Regions from separate parts of the Homo sapiens genome. Here all the other regions are linked to region 1. Evidence: promoter capture Hi-C in 16 types of primary human blood cells and fetal thymus (Javierre and others, 2016). All regions are on one chromosome and are shown on one strand. The core of a region is centred on a gene start or on the middle of the fragment in contact, and the rest is flanking DNA. Distances in the headings are between cores, read along the strand shown.

Region 1 (4,930 bases), core at 1,550-4,049:
TCACATCCATTAGGATGGCAATAAAGAAAACCAAAAAATAACAAGTGTTGGTGATGATGTGGAAAAATTGGAAACTTTGTGCACTGCTGATGGAAATGTAAAATAGTGCAGCTATGGAAAACAGTATGGTAATTCCTGGAAAAATCTTAAATGGAATTAGCTTATGATCCAGTGATTCCATTTCTGGGCATATATCCAAAATAATTGAAAGCAGGTTTCAAAGAGGTATTTGTACACCCACATTCATAACAGTACTATTTACAACAGCCAAAAGGTAGAAGCAATCTAAATATCCACTGACATATGAATGGATAGACAAAATATGATATACACATACAATGGAATATTATTCAGCCTCAAAAAAGGAAATTCTGACATGCTACAACATGGATGAAATGGAAGACATGCTGAGTGAAATCACCCAGCTACAAAAGAACAAATTTTTTTTTTTTTTTTTTTGAGACAGAGTCTCGCACTGTCACCCAGGCTGGAGTGCAGTGGCGCAATCTCGGCTCACTGCAATCTCTGCCTCCCGGGTTCAAGTGATTCTCCTGCGTCAGCCTCCTGAGTAGCTGGGATTACAGGTGCCTGCCACCACGCCCTGCTAATTTTTTGTATTTTTAGTAGAGACGGCGTTTCATCATGTTGGCCAGGCTGGTCTCGAACTCCTGACCTCATGTGATCCACCCGCCTCAGCCTCCCAGAGTGCAGGGATTACAGGTGTGAGCCACCGCACCTAGCCTACAAGAACAAATATTACATGATTTTACTCACATATGAGTAGACAAATACTAGAGTAGACAAATTTACAGAGAGAAAGTAGAAGGGTGGCTGCCAGGAACTTGGGAAAAGAGGGAAATGGGGAGTTACTGTTTAATAATACAGAGTTTCAGTTTTGCAAGATGGAAAATGTTCTGTGGACGGATGGGAGGTACTGAGGGTTGTACAACCGTGTGAAATACAGTTAATGCCAGCGAACTGTACACTTAAAAATGGTTAAAATGGCAACTTTCACATAATGTGTATATATATCTATAGATCTATAGATATCTAGATATCTGTAGATCTATAGATCTATAGATAGATTTTTTTTGTTTGAGACGGAGTCTCGCTCTGTCACCCAGGCTGGAATGCAGTGGACCGATCTCGGCTCACTGCAAGCTCTGCCTCCCAGGTTCACGCCATTCTTCTGCCTCAGCCTCCCGAGTAGCTGGGACTACGGGCGACCGCCACCACGCCCGGCTAATTTTTTGTATTTTTAGTAGAGAAAGGGTTTCACCGTGTTAGCCAGGATGGTCTCGATCTCCTGACCTCGTGATCCGCCTGCCTCGGCCTCCCAAAGTGCTGGGATTACAGGCATGAGCCACCACGCCCGCCCATGTAATGTGTATTTTATAGTTTAAAAAAAAAACTTATAAAATAGTGTGGTACTCAGACACAGATCATTGGAACAAAAATCCAGAAACAGACCCACACATATATGGTCACAAGGCGAAGGTAATTCAATGTATAAGAGTCTTTTCAGGCCGGGCGCGGTGGCTCACGCCTGTAATCCCAGCACTTTGGGAGGCCGAGGCGGGCGGATCACGAGGTCAGGAGATCGAGACCATCCCGGCTAAAACGGTGAAACCCCGTCTCTACTAAAAATACAAAAAATTAGCCGGGCGTAGTGGCGGGCGCCTGTAGTCCCAGCTACTTGGGAGGCTGAGGCAGGAGAATGGCGTGAACCCGGGAGGCGGAGCTTGCAGTGAGCCGAGATCCCGCCACTGCACTCCAGCCTGGGCGACAGAGCGAGACTCCGTCTCAAAAAAAAAAAAAAGAGTCTTTTCAACAAACGGTAATGGAACGACTGTATATCCCAATAGGAAAATGTTGACACTTACTTGACAACATAAGCAAAAATTAATGATATTAGATCATATCATAGACTTACACGTTAAAGACTATGTAAAACATATATGAGAACACAGAATATCTTCAAGAACTTGAGGTAGGCAGAGATTTCCTAGCACAGGAAAAGCACAAACCATTAAAATATAAAACTGACCAATTGACTTAATCAGAATTAAAAACTTCTTTGCCAAAAACGTCAAAACAATGAAACGACAGGCCCAGATTGGGAAAAAGACTTCGCAATCATTTATGTAACAAAAGATTTTCATTCAGAGCATACATATATCTAACAAAACATTTGTATCCAGAACTGTTAAACACGAAGGACCAGATTTAAAAACGGGCAGAAGACTGGAACTGAAACTTCACAAAAGATGCAGAATGGTCAGTAAGCACAGGACAAAAACGGTGCCAGTGACGCTGGTGCCAAAGCGGGAAGGAACGCATTCTTCAGCCTAAAAGACCTAACAGTAGGACACGGACATAACCACTCCCGGCCAAAAAGAACACAGAGCAACACAACGTCTTGGCTAACGAAAACTCAAAGCCTCAATTCACTCAGTTCCTTCACAGCGCTCGGAAACAGAGAAGTCTCGCGGTATCGGAAAATGCGCGGCGCTCACAGCCACACCTGACGAGATGGAGGGCGCAGGCGCATCCACGGCTTTCAGATTGGGCGACTGACTTCAAAGGGGGGGGCAAACAGGGAACGCGCAGGTATAGGAGCGCTGGCTGGAGGCTCCTCGAGAGCTCCCCAGACACGCCCCCGTGCGTACGCCCCCGTGCGTACGCCCCCGCTGCCGCCACCTTCGGTTGACCACCCCCATCTAGACTGTACTCTCGCGGTATTTGTCCCGACTCTCGCGGGGTTTAGCGTGGCATTGGGAGGCCCGGCCTGGGGGAGGAGACGGCGTTCCGTTAGCGGCGTTGGGGTTTGGCTGCAGTGGCAGTGCTTTCTCTTCTGCTCACGGGGACCCGCTCAGGCTGGAGGCCAGCCAGGTGAAGAGCTCGCCCGCATGCGTGCGCGCTGCGTGGGAGCCGCGAGGCCCGGGGCGGGAGGGGGCCTCGTCTTGGCCTCCTGCGCTGTCGCGACGGGCCGGCGTGAGGCACCGTGGCGCGGACTTCGTCTCAGCCCCGCCCTCGCCCCTGCCCTCGCCCCCGCCCTCGCCCCTGCCCTGACCGCTTTTCTCCCCCTCTCTCCCAGCTCTTGCCGCCACCTCGGTCGCGATGGGGGCGCAGGACCGGCCGCAGTGCCACTTCGACATCGAGATCAACCGGGAGCCGGGTGAGCTGGAAACTGGGGAGCGCTGCTGGGGCCGAGGCCTGCCTTGGCGAAGGGGAGGGGTCTACCCTCAGCAACCCTCCCCCGGCCTTTTTGGGAGCGGGTAGGAGGCGCAGGCAACTTTCCGTTTTCTCTTGAGAGAAAATCAGTGGGAGAGGAAGGTGGCCTGGGCACACCCCTAACTCGCAGTCCGGGCCTCTTCCTGCCAAACCCCACACACCCCGCTGCATCTCCGGACTGAGTCCTCGTAGCCAGCCTGGCGCCAAGAAAAGGAGGTGCAGTTCTTTGAGGACTTTTTCTCTCCCAGTGTCTCCGTGAGGCAGACACTCCCGATCCGATTTCCGGTTATCTTGCTTGGTGCTATGAAGTTTCAACTAGTAGGAAATATTGTGTGTTTCCTAATCACGATATATCACTAATATGTTAATTTTGCCTCTATTTTTCCTTAAGAATCTTTAGCTAGAATTTCGTGGTTCCTGGGAAAATGGCTTAGTGAAGATCTTTTGTGATAAACCAGAGCATTTTGTACCAGCAGAATTGCAGCATGCATGCACTTAGCATTAATGTTTGTCTTTAGGGAATCCAGACATTTGTTAGTGTATTTTTTTTAAATGAAACATTTCCTTCTAAAGCATAGTTATTTCATTCTAAGTAGCAGAGCGTGCAGGGTTTCAAACTGTTTTCTTAGCTTTTTTTGTTATCCGTGACAAAAGTTTTAATTGGAGACATATATATATGTGTTGTCTTTGTGCAACATCTTGTTCTGCATATTCTTATGAGAGCCTGCTACTGTTCTAGGGTCTGGAGATAGAGCAGCGCATAAAACAAAGGCCTCTTCCTTTTATAGTTTATATTCTATTGGGGGGAAGACGGACAACTAGGAAAAAAATAACAGTGACTTGTAGTTGGGATACTATTTTAATAAGTTGGTCAGACAAGGCCATTTTGAGAAGATGAGATTTAAGCAGGTATCAGAAGGAGATGAAGTGAGCCGTATTTAAGAAGAGCATTCGTGGTAGAGGGAAACAGCACAGCCCTGAGGTGAGGAGTAGTATACAGTCAGGCGCCAAATGACATTTCTATCTTTAACAATGGTCTTATATATAATACCTTTTTTTGGTAACTTTTTAATGTTTAGCTGTGTTTAGATATACAAATACTTCATTGTGTTAAAGTTGCCTACGGTATTCAGTGGAGTAACATCCTGTACAGGTTTGTAGCCTAGGAGCAAATAGACTATATAGCTTAGGTGTGTAGTAGGCCGTACCATCTAGGTGTGTTTAAATACATTCCATGATGTTCACACAATGACGAAATTGCCTAATTACACATTTCTCAGAATCCGTCCTGGTTATTAAACAATGGAGGACTGTACTTGCATGTTTGAGGGACAGCAGGGTGCCCAGTGTGGCTGGAGTAGAAGAGGAAAGAGAATAGTAAGAAATGGCCTGTAGGACTGACTCAGTGAGGTAGGAAGATATTAAAGGGTTTCGAGCAAAGGGATGAGATAATCCTGGAAATTTGGTTGCCTTCTCTCTCTTTTTAATGTTTTTAGCCTTGATTGATCTTTTTTTTTTTTTTTTTTAAATAAGTGTTACTAGAAAGCCTTGATGGACCTTAATCTTTATTTTGTAGTGAATCCATGCTTTAGATAACAGGGTTATTTTCTATTAAGAATTAAAAATAGCTCACGCCTGTAATCCCAGCACTTTGGGAGGCAGACGCGGGTGTATCATTTTGAGGTCAGGAGTTCGA
Region 2 (4,930 bases), core at 798-3,297, 3.2 Mb before region 1:
GAGCCGAGATTGAGCCACTGCACTCCAGCCTGGGCAACAAGAGCAAAACTCCGTCTCAAAAAAAAAAAGTGTATGTTTCTTCTCCTGTTAATTTGTCTATTGTCAGTTCATTTTAGCAGTGAACACTCAGAGGGTGGAGGGGAAGCCCCTACAAGAGCTTTAAAAGCTACTGATGCTTGGGTCTCACTCAGAGATTCTGATATATTCAGCCCAGGTGTAAGATTTTAAAAGCTGCCCAGGTGATCCTAATGCCAAGGCTGAGGCCCCTGGAGGAACCCTGCAGAGCTGCACTCACTACTCAGCAATCCCAATCCACACGTGAAGGGTTAAGCAGGAGTACATTTGGGTGCAGGGGGCAGGGCATTGTTTTGGGACTCAGGGGCCTCTGAGGAGGCTTGTGGCCTGAGTTTCTGCCAACAAACTGAATGCCTCCTCTTCCCATAACAAAGCGTAGAAGCGGGAGGCATTTGCATTTGCCGCAAGGGGCTGTGACTTCTCTGAATTTGTCCCTCAAGCCCCAGGTGCTTCAGCCTTGGTGGGTGATGAAGCAGAGCAGCCTGGGGGTGACCTGTGCTAGGGTCCAAGGGTTTCCAAGCTCCTCAGAAAATCATACTGGCTTCAGTGGAGCTGCAGAGCCACTTGCAGGAGAACCTGGATGTGCTGTCCTTTGGAAGAGTGGCCATAAGGGTCTACGAGTTCATTTTAGGGTGGGCTCAGAAATCAGATTGACTCAGCAGGCCCCAGAGAGGAACCTGCACTTTTTTTTTTTTTGACGGAGTCTTACTCTGTCGCCCAGGCTGGAGTGCAAGTGGCGCAATCTCCACTCACTACAACCTCTGCCTCCTGGGTTCAAGCAATTCTCCCGCCTCAGCCTCCCCAGTAGCTGGGATTACAGGCATGCCTGGCTAATTTTTGAATTTTTAGTAGATACCGGGTTTCGCCATGTTGGCCAGGCTGGTCTCTTGAACTCCTGGCCTCAAGGGATCCGCCCGCGTCAGCCTCCGAAAGTGCTGGGATTACAGCCACCGCGCCCCTTCAATTAACTCCTATTTTTTTGTTTGTTTTTTGGAGACAGAATTTCGCTCTATTGCCCAGGCTGGAGTGCAGCGGTGCAATCACATTCACTGCAGACTTGACCTCTAGGCTCAAGCTATCCTCCTGCCTCAGCCTCCTGAGTAGCTGAGACTACAGGGACGCACCATCATGATTGGTTAATTTTTGTATTTTTTGTGGAGATGGGGGTCTCCCCATGTTTCCCAGGCTAGTCTTGAACTTCTGAGCTCAGGCAATCCACCCACCTCGGCCTCCCAAAGTGCTGGGATTACAGGCACAAGCCACCGCGCCCGGCAAACTTATCTCCTACTGATGGATATTGCAAAATTTTTCTTCTACCAAAAAAAAAAAAAAAAAAAAGATAGATATAATCCATACCATCTGTTCAATCTTGTCCTTTTTAACTTTTTCAGGGAAACTTCCCCCAGGTGATAGATGGATAGATACATGAGATAGACATAACGCATACGATCAGTTCAATCTTATCTTTTTTAACTTTTTCAGAGAAAACTTCCCTTAAGTGAACATTTAAATCTGAATTACGTCCTGTTAAACTGTTCTCCAGGAAAATAAAATAAAATAAATCTTCAAGTTTTTGTTTACCTAACAATTTGTTGTGTCGAACAAACCTTCCTACTTTTCAGGTAACAAAATGGCAGCTTAGGCTAGAAAGCCGCTCATATTCGCAGGTACAAGGGCTGGGTAAGAACGCCCCGCCTGGCTGACTAACTTGAGTTCCGCGCTCTGGACAGGAATTATGCACAGGGCGTCGCTGTGGCACTAGAAACCCCAAAGTCACAAGCGCCCCAGATCCGACCAGGATGCCGCTACCGGCTACAGCCCAGAGGCCCGCTCCTGCGGCGCAAGCCCGCCTTCCTGAAGAAAAAGCCCAGTCCCGGCAGCGTTCTTCTCCGGCTCCGCCCTTCTTCCGCTCGACTTTCTTTGCCATTGGCTGACAACGGAGTACATAAGGACGTCATTTCCTGCCGCCTGTCTTTTCCGTGCTACCTGCAGAGGGGTCCATACGGCGTTGTTCTGGGTGAGTTCCGTGTAGCGTCCCTGGCGCCTTCCAGGGCTAGAAAAATGAGCTTTTCCTGCTCAAATGAAGGGTGAGAAGACTAGTGATGAAAGCCGGTCAGACTGGATCTGTCTCCCGCCCGGCGCGCCCCACCTTAGGCCTGCGGCCCGCACGTGGCCAGGCTCGGGCTGGCGGGTTCCCAGAGTGCCCCGGGAGCGGGTGGAGGCCGCCCTCCAGCGGAGGCTCCGAGCTGGGGTTCGGACCAGGCCGCGGGTGGGCGGGAGTGCAGAAAGCGGGCTAACATCCTGTGTTGCTATCCCTTCGGAGTCCCACACGGCGGTGAGTCTAGGCCCAGGCGCTGATTTACACCAGCTACTTGGGCTGGTCGGGTTTTCCCTTCGCGCCGTGCGGGTCAGGAGTTAAGGTTCTCGGGTTTTTAGACAAACAAGTGGTGACAGCACAGCGAAGTAATTCCAAAGCATCCGCCTACAATCTGCTTGAAAATGTCTGAAAACAATTCATGCCTTTTTTGCCTTTAGTTTGCATATTCCAAACATGGCTGCTCTTTTGTATCTAGTTGTTAACTTGGCGCATCCACAACTTTTCCTTAATTCCTATCTTGAGAAGTGTTGAATTTCCATTCGCTAATTTCGTGTAGTTTTATTACTCGGTTACTCTGCCGTCCACACTATTTCCTCAGTAAGATGTGCGCTGTTCCGTAATACACGACATGTATGGGTTAACTTTCTGTTTACCCTTCACTACACTGTAAGCTCAATGCCTGACACTATAGCAGATGGAGTTTTTGGTTGCTTTTAAGGGTGTGCCCTACTTAACTCAATGGAATGAAAAGAAATAGGTTGCTCTCTTATTTCAGATTCCCGTCGTAACTTAAAGGGAAATTTTCACAATGTCCGGAGCCCTTGATGTCCTGCAAATGAAGGAGGAGGATGTCCTTAAGTTCCTTGCAGCAGGAACCCACTTAGGTGGCACCAATCTTGACTTCCAGATGGAACAGTACATCTATAAAAGGAAAAGTGATGGTTAGTCATTGCTTTAATTTTTTGTTACTCCAGCTGTAAGTACAAATTTTGAGCTTGCTATTCTCGTGGTTAGTTCTGGGTAATTTCTTTCTATCTTCCTTAAATGAAGCCAGACCCCTACGTTGAAAACATACTTTAAATAAATGTTCTTGTTATTGAGAGAAAAGATTTCTGCTCCAGGGGAGGAATATGTCAGTTGTCTGAGTTACGGGACTTGGGTTGGGTCATGAACATGAGAAAGTTCATTGGCTGAGTTTCTAATAGCTCGCATAGTGCCTTCAACTTCATAGGTACTTACACAGGCTATTGAACTGAATTTTGAGTGGAAAGTGGGGTAAGAGGTGGGAATGAACAATATGGTTTGGAAGAACCAGAGGATGGAAGGCATTAAGTTGGCTAAGGCACTTACTTATTTTAGAGATAAAGCTACCAAGGACTTGGGAGTGACATGCTGTAAAGGAGTTTTAGGATGAATCTTGCATCAGTGCAGATTATAAAAGGGAAAGAGTGGCAGAAAGCCAGGAAGTGGATTATTAAGAACCAATGATGGAATAAGTACAGGGAAAGAGAAAGGAAAGATGGATTTAGCCAACTGAATCTAGGCTGCACACTATTAAAGCTCAGGGTGGAGGCCAGTCTTGGCTCATGAACTTCTGAGTGTCGGAAGTGTGCTATATCAATGGCAGGATTTTCGCTAACACCAGTAGAGCTTGCCTCTATGACTGGAGTTTGGTAGTACTCGCTGCCACATAGAGTAAACTTGAGAAGAATGTTTGCACAGCCAGGTCAAGTGTTACAAATCCTTCTGCCCTCACTTAGGCATCTATATCATAAATCTCAAGAGGACCTGGGAGAAGCTTCTGCTGGCAGCTCGTGCAATTGTTGCCATTGAAAACCCTGCTGATGTCAGTGTTATATCCTCCAGGAATACTGGCCAGGTTTGTGGAACAGTGGTTAGTTTTTATATTATAGAAATAAAGCTTACAGACATTGTGAGACATAGAAAGACATAAGAAAACAGAAATAACTCAGGCCGGGCGCGGTGGCTACGCCTGTAATCCCAGCACTTTGGGAGGTGGAGTCCGGCGTATTACGAGGTCAGGAGATCCACACCACGGTGAAGCCCCATCTCTACTAAAAATACAAAAAATTAGTTGGGCGTGGGGGCGGGTGCCTGTAGTCCCAGCTACTCAGGAGGCCAAAGTGGAGAATGGCGTGAACCCGGTGGGCGGAGCTTGCAGTGAGCTGAGATGCGCCACTGTACTCCAGCCTGGGTGACAGAGCCGAGACTCTGTCTCAAAAAAAAAAAAAAAGAAAATAGAAAACTCAAACTCCACTGTTAAGAGATCTTAAGTTGGACTGAGCCATAGAAATCGCCCTTATGACCTATGACCTTCCTTTTTTTTTTTTTTTTTTTTTTTCCTTCAAGACAGTCTCTCGCTCTGTTGCCTGTTGTCCATCCTGGACTGCAGTGGTGTGATATCGGCTCATTGCAGCCTTTGCCTCCTAAGCTCAAGGGATTCTCCTGCCTCATCCTCCCGAGTAGCTGGAATTACAGGCATGTGCCACCATGCCTGACTGATTTTTGTATTTTTAGTAGAGACATGGTTTTACCATTTGGCCAGGCTGGTCTTAAACGCCTGATCTCAAGTGATCCTCCCACCTCGGCCTCCCAAAGTGTTGGGATTACAGGCGTAAGCCACTGCGCCCAGCCTGTAAGACCTTTTCAACATACATGCTGGGCATCTGGCAGTATGTTGAACTTTATAATTTCATTTTGTGTAGACTTGTGCCACTAAATATCTAGAAATTCTAT
Region 3 (4,930 bases), core at 745-3,244, 3.1 Mb after region 1:
CGAACTCCTGACCTCAAGAGATCCACCTGCCTTGGCCTCCCAAAGCACTGGGATTACAGGCATGAGCCACCGTGCCCAGCCGTTAAAAAAATTTTGAAAAGGTAAATCATAAGCTGGAAAAAAGATTGCAACGTATTTAAGAGTTAATACCCTTAATATATTAAAAAATCAAATTTGTAAGAAAAAATTCAATACATCAAGAGAAAATATATAAAGTACATGTAAAAGGAAGTTCCATATTCCAATTATGAAAATTGCAAATCACGGTTAAATTTATAATAGCCAGTGTTGGTTAGCATGCACGAAAACAGAGAAACAGGTGCTGTTGATGGAAGTGTGTTTTGGTTTAATTTTTTGGAGGGCAGTCAGAAAGTAACAAAAGTCTTAAAAATGTCCATAAAATGGACCTTACAGATGTCCACCTGGTCGTTCCACCTCTAGAAATTTGTAAGACAAATAATTCGGCCGGGCACAGTGGCTCACATCTAACCCCAGCACTTTGGGAGGCTGAGGTGGGCGGATCACGAGATCAGTAGATCAAGACCATCCTTGCTAACACGGTGAAACCCCGTCTCTACTAAAAAATACAAAAAATTAGTCGGGCGTGGTGGCACACACCTGTAGTCCCAGTTACTTGGGAGGCTGAAGCAGGAGAATTGCTTGAACCCGGGAGGCAGAGACTGCAGTAAGCCGAGATCACGCCACTGCACTCCAGCCTGGGTGACAGAGCGAGACTCCGTCTCAAAATAATAATAATTCAACACAGGGTCTCATTCTGTTGCTCAGGCTGGAGTGCAGTGGCATGGTAACAGCTCACTGCAGCCTCAACCTCCTGGGCTGAGGTGATCCTCCCACCTCAGCCTCCTGAGTAGCTAGGACTATAGGTGCACACCACCACACCTGGCTAATTAAAATTTATTTATTTATTTAGTAAATAGAGATGAGGTCTTGCTATGTTGCCCAGGCTGGTCTCGAACTCCTAAGCAGCATCATTTTTTCTAGGTGTTAAACTGACAACCACCCAAATTCCCAGCATAAGGATTCTGCTTAAAATATCTAGCTCTCTGATGAAATATCTTCAAAGAATATTTAATGACCTTAAATCTCAGACAAAAAGGTAAGGAGACAAAATGAGGAACCCATTTCCGTACAACCCCAATTTGGAAAAACACATGTGCAAGTATGCCCATGTTAAAAAATATAGAAGAAAAAAAGGCTTTAAGGAAAAAAAAAATAATAGTAATGATTTAGGGTGGGAATCGCGTTAATATTCCCAATAATTTTATATATTTTAAAAATCTATAATTTTATCAGGGGAAAACGTTATGTTGCGGAAATTAATTGATCGATTGAGTGATTGGTTAACGGACAGTGTCCGATGACTCATATAATCCCCCGGTTCGAGTCCCTTTAGGCCGCAGACGTTTCGCGCCTTCTCGGGTGTCCAAGTCGCGCATCCATACAATGAGGGGTAATATACTAGATTACCTGAGGTCTTCTTACGGTAAAAACACCGGTGTCTTAAGGTTTCCCAGTGGAATTTGGGGGCCGGGTTGACTTCGGAGCTGGAGCTCGCAAAGGCCGGGGCTGCTGCAGATTCTGACGCTTTGTGGACCCCTACTACCGAGCGCAGCCGCACCGCAGGTTTTCTTCGCTGCTGGTTAGATCCAAAGCCCATCCCATCCTAGTAAACTGGGACAGCGCCGCTTCTCACATCACTATGGGGGCTTCTGCTCCGTGGCGGGGAAAGGCCAGAACTGCTGCCTTAAATACGCTTTTGCATCATCCGGTTGCTAACCTCCGGCCACAGCATTCCCCACTCCAAAATGCCACTTTTCCAGGTGTGTTTGCCTAAATTTACCCCATTTACAGACTTCTCAGGTGCATCATTGGGAACAGGGCGCTTTGCAGTTTGCAAACCACCTCAGACAACTCCAGGTTTAAAGGATAAAGGATGACATTGTGAGCAAAGCGGCATCAAAATTTCAGATATTTAACTTTCACATTCTAACCATACACCTTTCCAAGGTCTTGTAATACTTTCACATTGTGAATATACATCTTTACAAGACCCAGTAGTACATGGGTCAAGTGTGGCAAAACAGACATCGCGAGCCAGCCAGGAGTCGAACCTAGAATCTTCTGATCCGTAGTCAGACGCGTTATCCATTGCGCCACTGGCCCCGACTTGCTAAAGCCTTCTCCGTGATAGCTGATCACCCTTATACAGTTTGAACGGGCTTCCGGGTACCAACGATCCATTTTGCCCTTGCGCCGCGCTCCCGCTGCTCTGCCTTTCCCCAAAACGCGCCCCACCAATCCGCAGCGGCTTCGTCACGGCGCTCTTCGTCGCACTCCAACCCGCCGCGTCGGCGGCATCTCTCGCGTGCTCTTGCTTGCGCACTAATTTGTCCTCCACCGCCTCCCGTTCAGGCCGGCTCTCCTGCGGGGCGGGGAAAGGGGTGGGAAGAGGCTGGGAGCTGCGGCCGCTGTGCCAGGGTGACCGGTAGAGTTGTAGCCGAGGTGGCGGCGCGGGGCGGGGCGGGCGGAGAGAGAAGGAAGGAGGTGGTTGTGCAGGATGGCGACGGCGGCCTACGAGCAGCTGAAGCTGTGAGTCCCACGGGCCAGAGGCCTGAGGCGCGGCGGGCGGGGCGGCAGGTGCGGGCCCTGGCCTCGGGGAGGGCTTCTGAGTCCCGGATTGCAGATAGGGTGTGGGAGCTCCTCGCATTTACCGGTTTTCCTCAGCCGGCGCGGCCTCTCCTAGGCCTCGCCCGAGTAGCCATAGGCCGGGAACCAGCGGCTCGCCGGCCTTTCTCCACCGTGCTCGGCCCCAGCGCCCACGGCTGAAGAGAGAAGCTGCCGACTGGCCCCCACCGAGCCGGGGTCGGCGTTATGATGCGGCCCTTCAGGGCACGCTTGTCCCCACTTTCTATGCAGAGCTACCGACTAAATTTATCTGTATGACTTAACAGAGAAAAAGAGTTTTCTCTTACTTAACGGACCTACAGCAGCAATTTAGAGTCTACGCACAAATCAACAAATCTTTGTTTTGCTTACAGCCTATCTGGGTACCGAAGCCTGCCTGCCCCCTCTTCAGTGTGCAGAAAAAATTTAAAGTACAGTCAGTAGTCTTAAGGTCCTGAAGGAGTTTACTTTGGTTTAAATTTTAAACAGCTCCAGCCTAAAGCAGGTTCTTAAGTCAGTGTCGACAGCCAGAGGCTAATCTCGGTAATTTTGGTACTGCAAATTGACTTTTCGGTAAATCCAAGTTCTTGAGTCTTTGATACAGAGGCTGTGGTTGTTAAGAGTTATAAAATAGGTGTTTTTAAGGGTTTTGGTTTGTCTTGGATTAAAAACAACATGTGTTTATTTCCCTTAGTGTTACCCATTAGCATCCACACTTTTCTTGTCTGTGAATAATTTTGTTGTACTCACTTCGTGTTTAATGCTTTACCCCTAGGCTGTTTGAAAATCTGGTGGCCACAGCCTGGGAATATCTGGTAGGAGAAACAAATGTAATTTTTTAGAAGCTTATCTATCCCTGTATATGAGCTAAAATACCTTGGCAGTTAGGCATAGATACCGCATTTCTTTTGCAGGGAAATGACACCAAAATGTGGTTTGGGCACTTAAGCTCCTCAGACCTCAACCTCACTAGTAACTTTCTGAAAGGTTCAGTGGAAAGTTAGAGGTGCAAAATTCAGAGAGGTCATCTATTCCACATTGTATGTGTTGCAAAAAAGATGATTGCTTTTTCTACAGTGCACCCCCTGTGGGTGCCATTTCTGTTTACTGTAATGTTCTTTGAAAACCCTAGCTGCACACTTCCCTCCACATTTTCCTCTCCACCTTTCCCTATTTTCTCCCAGTTCCCCTTTGCAAAGTGCTCACCTCGTCTTTGGTGAAAGAGTTGAAGGAAGTGTCTTCCACTGCGTTTCTGGCCAGGCCACTGTCACATGTGCTCTGCTAGCTAATTAGGTTATTGTGTATCTGATAGGCACTGAAGGGTTTAATGTGATCCTACACCAGGTCTCAAATGTGTTTAAGCCATATGGAGCCATGGCTTCATGCAGCTTAGCGTGGCAAAGATTGAATAGGATGGAGAACTTGAGAATTATGATGATTGTTTTTCAGCTGCCAGAACACTAAATTTAACCAGTTCAGACCTTAAAACAAACCCAAATCCTCGCATACATAAAAGAGAAAGGAAATTTGTCCCTGAAGTAGTAAGAATGATGTTTTTGTATTGATTTTTGTGAGAAGTGGAAACTCTTAAATTATTTGGGTGATAAAGTCAAACTGGGGTTATGTGAAAGTCATTCTCTCATTTGTCAGTCCTAGCTTTTTTTCCCCCTGAAAAAAAAGTTTAGAGTGTTTCTGTAAATGTGAAGGTACAACTTTTTTGCACCTTTTTCTTTACCAAGGGGTTTATGAGTTAGAGTTTCCATTTTTATTCCTTCCTTTTGGCCCTTCCTGCTCTGAGGCTGCTGTTGAAGGTTTTCAAATGTGGCTCCTGCCCTAAGGAGTATTCTTTTTTGGATGCATTTAGAAGTGAAATTGGTTTCTGTGTAAGAATTGGTAGGAGATAGTAGCCATTTTTTAAAATGTGTCTGGAGATGTGTTTTAAGAAATATCCATGCAAAAGAGATAGTTCGATTATTTTATTACAAAAGGATTGCTAAAAGGATTTATTTAAATGTTGAAATGCTTGTTTTTTTTTTCTTTTGTTTCGTTTTGTCTTTAAAGAGATGGGGTCTCATTCTGTTGCCCAGGCTGGAGTACAGTGGTTTGATCATAGCTCACTGCAGCCTCTAACTCCTAGTCTCAAGCGAGCCTCCCACCTCAGCCTCTCGAGGAGCTAGGACTACAGATGCACACCACCACACCTGTCCTACTTCGGATTTTAAATAATAATTCTGTCTGCATTATG

Evidence for each region. Contacts are between HindIII fragments. The CHiCAGO score rates a contact against its expected background, and 5 or more counts as called.
Region 2: the fragment with the promoter of RPSA here is called in contact with the fragment with the promoter of NKTR in region 1 in 2 of 17 cell types (monocytes and total B cells); the score reaches 7.7 in monocytes.
Region 3: the fragment with the promoter of LIMD1-AS1 here is called in contact with the fragment with the promoter of NKTR in region 1 in 1 of 17 cell types (neutrophils); the score reaches 5.3 in neutrophils.

The regions. Positions count from the first base shown.
Region 1 is chr3:42,597,887-42,602,816 of GRCh38, forward strand. NKTR (natural killer cell triggering receptor) reads left to right here and starts at 2,800. Exons shown (of 17, transcript NM_005385.4): 1 at 2,800-2,892; 2 at 3,098-3,178. The coding sequence starts at 3,121. It also overlaps a transcript of SEC22C not described here. RefSeq lists a silencer at 2,894-3,103. The HindIII fragment of the contact is 13,164 bases long and covers 1-4,930 here.
Region 2 is chr3:39,404,673-39,409,602 of GRCh38, forward strand. It overlaps RPSA (ribosomal protein SA), which reads left to right and starts at 2,048. Exons shown (of 7, transcript NM_002295.6): 1 at 2,048-2,092; 2 at 2,949-3,114; 3 at 3,934-4,052. The coding sequence starts at 2,982. SNORA6 (small nucleolar RNA, H/ACA box 6) reads left to right here and starts at 3,719; the gene lies at 3,719-3,867. RefSeq lists enhancers at 1-183, 1,769-2,560, 1,942-2,081, 4,146-4,930 and silencers at 2,252-2,431, 3,827-3,876. The HindIII fragment of the contact is 4,276 bases long and covers 1-3,969 here.
Region 3 is chr3:45,686,888-45,691,817 of GRCh38, forward strand. It overlaps LIMD1-AS1 (LIMD1 antisense RNA 1), which reads right to left and starts at 1,995. Exons shown (of 3, transcript NR_033947.1): 1 at 1,489-1,995. SACM1L (SAC1 like phosphatidylinositide phosphatase) reads left to right here and starts at 2,509. Exons shown (of 20, transcript NM_014016.5): 1 at 2,509-2,610. The coding sequence starts at 2,579. TRR-ACG2-1 (tRNA-Arg (anticodon ACG) 2-1) reads right to left here and starts at 2,184; the gene lies at 2,112-2,184. RefSeq lists enhancers at 1,311-1,380, 1,891-1,940, 2,201-2,490 and a silencer at 2,521-2,700. The HindIII fragment of the contact is 5,339 bases long and covers 1-3,528 here.